Regions from separate parts of the Homo sapiens genome. Here region 2 is linked to region 1. Evidence: promoter capture Hi-C in human tissues and cell types (Jung and others, 2019). All regions are on one chromosome and are shown on one strand. Each heading gives the region's core, a stretch centred on a gene start or on the middle of the fragment in contact. The rest is flanking DNA. Distances are from core to core; before and after follow the strand shown.

Region 1 (2,675 bases), core at 122-2,621:
TGGCACAGCACTTGAGTCCTACCTACAGGACTCTGGAATGTTCTACAAGGTCCTTATATTATGTTCTATGTATGGAAGCCTGAACACCCCACAGAGGGGTTACCCCCTCATCTCTCCCACAGCGTCCTTGAGCAAGGGTTGAGTGTATGAGATAAACAGGACCATAAAATTTCAGGCTGTGCAGGAGGCAGCTGCAATGCGTGCCAAGGCTCTAAGCCTGGGGGAGGGGTGGGATGGTGGGGGGCAGAGAACAAGGGACAGAGTGTCAGGCTGGTGTCACAGGCCTTTACCTAATTGCTGCATGAAGACACGCGCCACCTTCTCAGGCAGAATCCTGCGGGTATGGATGAAGCGAGACAGGTCGCCCCCTGCGCAAAACTCCATGATGAGGTAGATATTGTCACTGTCCCACTGTGTTTAGAGGCAGAGAGGCGGCCTGAAGAGAGTGTCCCTTCTCCAGCTCCCTTTGGCAGCGGCCCCGCCCCAGGCTCACACCTGAAAGTCTTTCAGCTGCACAATGTGGGGATGTCGAATGCCCTTGAGGATCTCAATCTCCGTGAGGAGGTTCTCCACCGATGCCTTGTTCAGACTTTTCTTGGCTACACACTTTATGGCTACCACTTCACGAGTGTCCTTCTGCGAGACAGGAGATTTGGGGACTCTGCCTTGAGGGGGCCAGGACCCTTGTCTGACTGGAAAGGCTCTATCTGGTTCCCTCTGTTCCCCCACCCCGCCCCTCCCCGGGTCTACCTACTGCACACCAGCACCGGGCTTCCCAGCTTTCCCTTGTGAGGCCAGTGAGGAATGCTGATTCTGGAATCCTGGCTTCCCGACACAGCCTCAGCCTGGTCTTCTCCAACCCTCGGCTAGCTGATCCATTTCTTTGCATTCTGGAGTGCTCCCGGCAGAGGCATGTCACTCAGGGTTCTAGAACCGCCCACTCTGCCTCCCAACTGGCTCCAGTCCCAGACTCCTCCCAGCCCACCAGGTAACCTGTTTTGAGCCTGTTCTTCAGCCACTGACCCTGCAGGTGGGTGCAGGTGCGCTCTTTAAGACCTAAGCGTGGCAGTCGGCTCCAACCTCCGCCGAGGGTCAGCTGGGGCGAGGCCGGCCTCCCGCCCCTAACTATTCCCACACTGTCGCTAACCTCTCAGAGTCTCCCCGGCCGGCACCAGCCGAGCTAGCTCGGGCGGGCACGGGGCCATCGGCCGGCACCCACCTTGGCGTAGGCCTTGTACACCGTGGCGTACGTGCCGCTGCCCAGGCGCTCGGTGAGGATGAAGCCGTCCAGGCGCGGGGGACCCCAGCCGGGCCCCGCCATTCCGGCCGCCTGCGCCCGCGCGGGCGCTTCCTCGCTGCGGGCGGCGGTTCCGGCGGGTTGCGGGGCGGGCCGAGCACTGGGTGGCTCCACGCTGCCCCCAGCGCCGCCCGCCGGAAATGCAGCGCGCATCGGGGACGCGGATCCGCCCGGCTCCCGGCGCCCCTCCCCTGTCTCTGGGCCTCGCCGGGTCACGCGCCCCGCCAGTTCCTGCAGGGCCCACGTGGGGATACGGAGGCCCCGCGAGCCTAGAAGTTAACAACGGAGGACGGCCGGCGTGGTCTCCGGGGACTCCTAGCGGGCGCAGAGGCGTCTAGAGATCGCCCACGTGAGGGCGCGGGCGGCGGAGCGGGCGTGTGTGGGGGCGACGGCGTCCGGGAGGCTCCCAGGGCCCCTCCCCAGGACCCGCAGCTCTGAAAGGAGAGCTACTGGCACGAGAAGGCGCCTTTGGAAGAGGCCGCGTTGGCTTCCCAGGCCTCCCAGCTGCTTTTCACTTTTCTGAGGAAGGGCCTTGACCTATTTATTGCATCTTAACTGTCCCCGCTCTCCAATCTTAGCAGCGGCGCCCAGCCCCTAATCCTGTGGGCTGCCCCGTCCTCCCAAGTCCACCAGACATGTGGACCCGTGTTGTCTGAAAATGTTTTTATTTTTACTTAAGCACAAAAATTGAGACGTAACATATACATTTGTACATAGAGGGGAAAAAATACCAGAAAGGAGTTCATAAAACCCCAGCCGCTGCCAGTATCATTCAGTGGCTGGGGCCTGCGGCTGTCTCGGGCCCAGAGCCGGAGGCTAGTTTTGTGGGAAGGCACCCCAGTCCACACACCCACTCGGCAGCCTCGAGGGACAGGGTGCTGGTTTTAAGGGTGGACTCCTACGTGTCCCATCACAGTGACACACCCCCCAGGGTGTGAACCAGACTCCACTGGGTATTAGGGGGCCCTCCGAGAGATGGCTTATCAGTCCCTGCTGAGGGATGCGGTTCTGGACTGGCTGGCCCTGCCCTTCCTGAAAGTCTGGATGCTGCTGATGGGGAGCATGGGCGGGGCAGGTGGCATCTGAGGCAGAGACAAAGGCAGCCGTCCCTCGGTTCGGGGAGGGGGGGGGGTAGTCACAGCAAACAGGGCCAAACCAACCACACCAGGACAGGCAGACCCCACCCTCCTAGAAGACGCTGGACGCTAGGCAGGACAGCTTGGGGTCAGTGTCCTTGGTCCCTTCCAGTCCCCAAATCCCAACCAACGGCATTGTACATTCAGAAAGTCTGAAGAGAGTAAGGCTCAGCAAGGGGAGGGCTCCAGAGGGCTCAAAGTGCCATCCCCTGCAGGAGGGTGCAGGGGGATAAAGGGCTATT
Region 2 (2,675 bases), core at 118-2,617, 840 kb before region 1:
CAGCGGCGCCTGTCGGTGTACCGGCAGATTGTGGATGCGCAGGCTGTGTGCACCCGCTGCAAAGAGTCGGCCGACTTCTGGTGCTTTGAGTGCGAGCAGCTCCTCTGCGCCAAGTGCTTCGAGGCACACCAGTGGTTCCTCAAGCACGAGGCCCGGCCCCTAGCAGAGCTGCGCAACCAGTCGGTGCGTGAGTTCCTGGACGGCACCCGCAAGACCAACAACATCTTCTGCTCCAACCCCAACCACCGCACCCCTACGCTGACCAGGTGAGTAGGCCGGCACAGGGTGGGGTGGTGCATCCAAGTACCAGGTAGAGGGCGAGAGGAGCAAAGATCCAAAGAGTCACACAGCTGAGGACAAGGAGCTTCTGGGGCCTTGCAACTCTAAATGTGGTCTGCAGATATGCAGTGTCCGTGTTGATGACCACAATTTATGCTGCCAGTCCCCACGCAGGTGGATAGTAAGTTTCCAGTTTCCTCCTGTAATAAATAATGCTGCAGAATCATCTTTGCATCTTTATCCAGTAACTTCTTTAGGATAAATTTTTAGAAGTGCCACTGCTGGGTGTAGGGGGACGGGAATTCTACATTTGATACATGTTACCAAACTGCCCTTTAGAATTTAGTGGAATTTTCCGAGAGCACTGACACGGAATCTCAGTAAGGCTGGATTCTAGGATCAGAGACAAGTAGTTAGTTTCTGTCTGAAAAGTTGAAACCATTAACACCAGGCAGCGCTATCTGAGAATGTCTGTATGGGGAAAAAAAATCACATCCAGTTGTAATTATTTTTATTAAACAGATTTTAACTCAGTTTTTTAATAGGTAATACATTCGTACAGTTCACGAACAAAATTTGTAAAGAGGAGAGAGAGAGTGCAATCTTCTGTCCATGCCCAACTGCCTAATTCCCACCACTTCTCCCTCTTCCCATCCACAGGTAGCCATTGTTACTAGTTTTGAATGTTTCTTCTGAGAGTTTCTTTACGAATATATATGCAGGTAGGAGCAATCTTATCAGGTCCTATTTTCCCTCTTTTAGCCAAAAAGGTAGCATAACTATGTGAACTTTTCACCATTAGCAATAGATTGTTCATAGAAGGCGCTTCTTGGTTCTTAGAGATCCACTTGCAAAATGAAAGCATTTTTCGCTGGTTTTTGACAACTCAGAACTATATATGGCTAAACCACATATTTGCTGAACTACATATCTGCTAAACTGACTGTGATTTGTTTCCTGCTTTAGGATAAACTTCCCACACTATCAGAATAAGCTTTCCCCTCCGACTCCTCAACAGCTGGTATCACCACGTTTCTTAGCTTATTGTAAAGGTTGAGTGGCTTTCCACTTGTTTATTGGCCATTGTGTTTCTGCATTTGCGAGTGGCCTGTTTAGGTCCTTTGCCTGTTGTTGTTGTTGTTTCCGTTGAGGAATTAAGGGACTAATTAAAGAATTCAGGAACAAATTCCTCGAAAGAAAAAAATGTATGCATTTCTTTTGCTCTTACAATTTATGCAGTTTTAAAACTTACATATTTATTGGATTTTGATTGAAATTGCAATAAATTAGGAGAAATTGGCTTTATCTCTGGTTCTATCTTTTGGATTTAAAAAATTTTTTTTAATTTTTTTTTTTTTTTTTTGAGATGGAGTCTCGCTGTGTCACCCAGGCTGGAGTGCAGTGGCGCGATCTCGGCTCACTGCAACCTCCACCTCCCGGGTTCACGCCATTTTCCTGCCTCAGCCTCCCAAGTAGCTGCGATTACAGGTGCACATCATCATGCCTGGCTAATTTTTTGGCATTTTTAGTAGAGACAGGGTTTCACTATAATGGTCAGGCTGGTCTCCTGACCTCAGGTGATCCACCTGCCTCGGCCTCCCAAAGTTCTGGGATTACAGGCATGAGCCACCATGCCCAGCCTTATACTAATTTCTTAATGAATTTGTAAGCTTTCATGTTTTGAACGTGATAATGCAGCCATCCCACGGGATCCATGGGAGTCTGTTTCAAATTCATAGATGCTCAAGTCTCTGATATAAAATGGCATAGTATTTGTATATAACCTCTACACATCCTCCTGTATACTTTATTTTTTATTTTATTTTTATTTTTTGAGACGGGGTCTTGCTCTGTCGCCCAGGCTGGAGTGCAGTGCTGCACTCGTGGCTCACTGCAGCCTCAATCTCTTGGGTTCAAACAATCCTCCCACCTCAGCCACCAGATTATACAGGACTGCAGGTGTGCACCACCACACTCAGCTAATTTTTAAATTTTTTGTAGAGACAGGGTTTCACGACATTGCCCAGACTGGTCTTGAGAACTCTTGGGCTCAGGCAGCAACCCTCCCTAGGCCTCTCAAAGTGCTGGGATTACAGGTGTGAGCCACTGTACCCATCCCCTCCTGTATACTTTAAGTCATCTCTAGATTACTTATAATGCCTAATACAATGTAAATGCTATGTAAAGAGTTGTTTTACTATATTTTTGAATTTGTATATTTTTTTATTGTGGTACTTTTTTAATTGATTTTTTTTCGCCTGAATATTTTTGATCCAAGATTTGTTGAATCCACGGGTGCGTAACCTGCAGATACTGAGGGCCAACTGTACATATAAATTGTTTAGCGTAGTGCCTGGCACATATTAAATACTCAGTGAATGTTAAAATTCTATTAT

The links. The method cuts DNA at HindIII sites, captures the fragments that hold promoters and counts their contacts. A contact is called where the count stands out against the background at its distance.
Region 2: a contact is called between a fragment that was not itself captured here and the fragment with the promoter of ULK3 in region 1, in 1 of the 25 tissues and cell types used here (dorsolateral prefrontal cortex).

What each region holds. Positions count from the first base shown.
Region 1 is chr15:74,841,785-74,844,459 of GRCh38, forward strand. ULK3 (unc-51 like kinase 3) reads right to left here and starts at 1,372. Exons shown (of 16, transcript NM_001099436.4): 1 at 1,220-1,372; 2 at 496-636; 3 at 291-411. The coding sequence starts at 1,321. SCAMP2 (secretory carrier membrane protein 2) reads right to left here. Exons shown (of 9, transcript NM_005697.5): 9 at 1,946-2,675. RefSeq lists enhancers at 366-891, 960-1,871 and a silencer at 1,134-1,853. The HindIII fragment of the contact is 11,414 bases long and covers 1-2,675 here.
Region 2 is chr15:73,998,211-74,000,885 of GRCh38, forward strand. It overlaps PML (PML nuclear body scaffold), which reads left to right. Exons shown (of 9, transcript NM_033238.3): 2 at 1-266. Among named protein-coding and RNA genes, the nearest start is that of PML, 4.8 kb to the left of the region's middle. The HindIII fragment of the contact is 4,698 bases long and covers 1-2,675 here.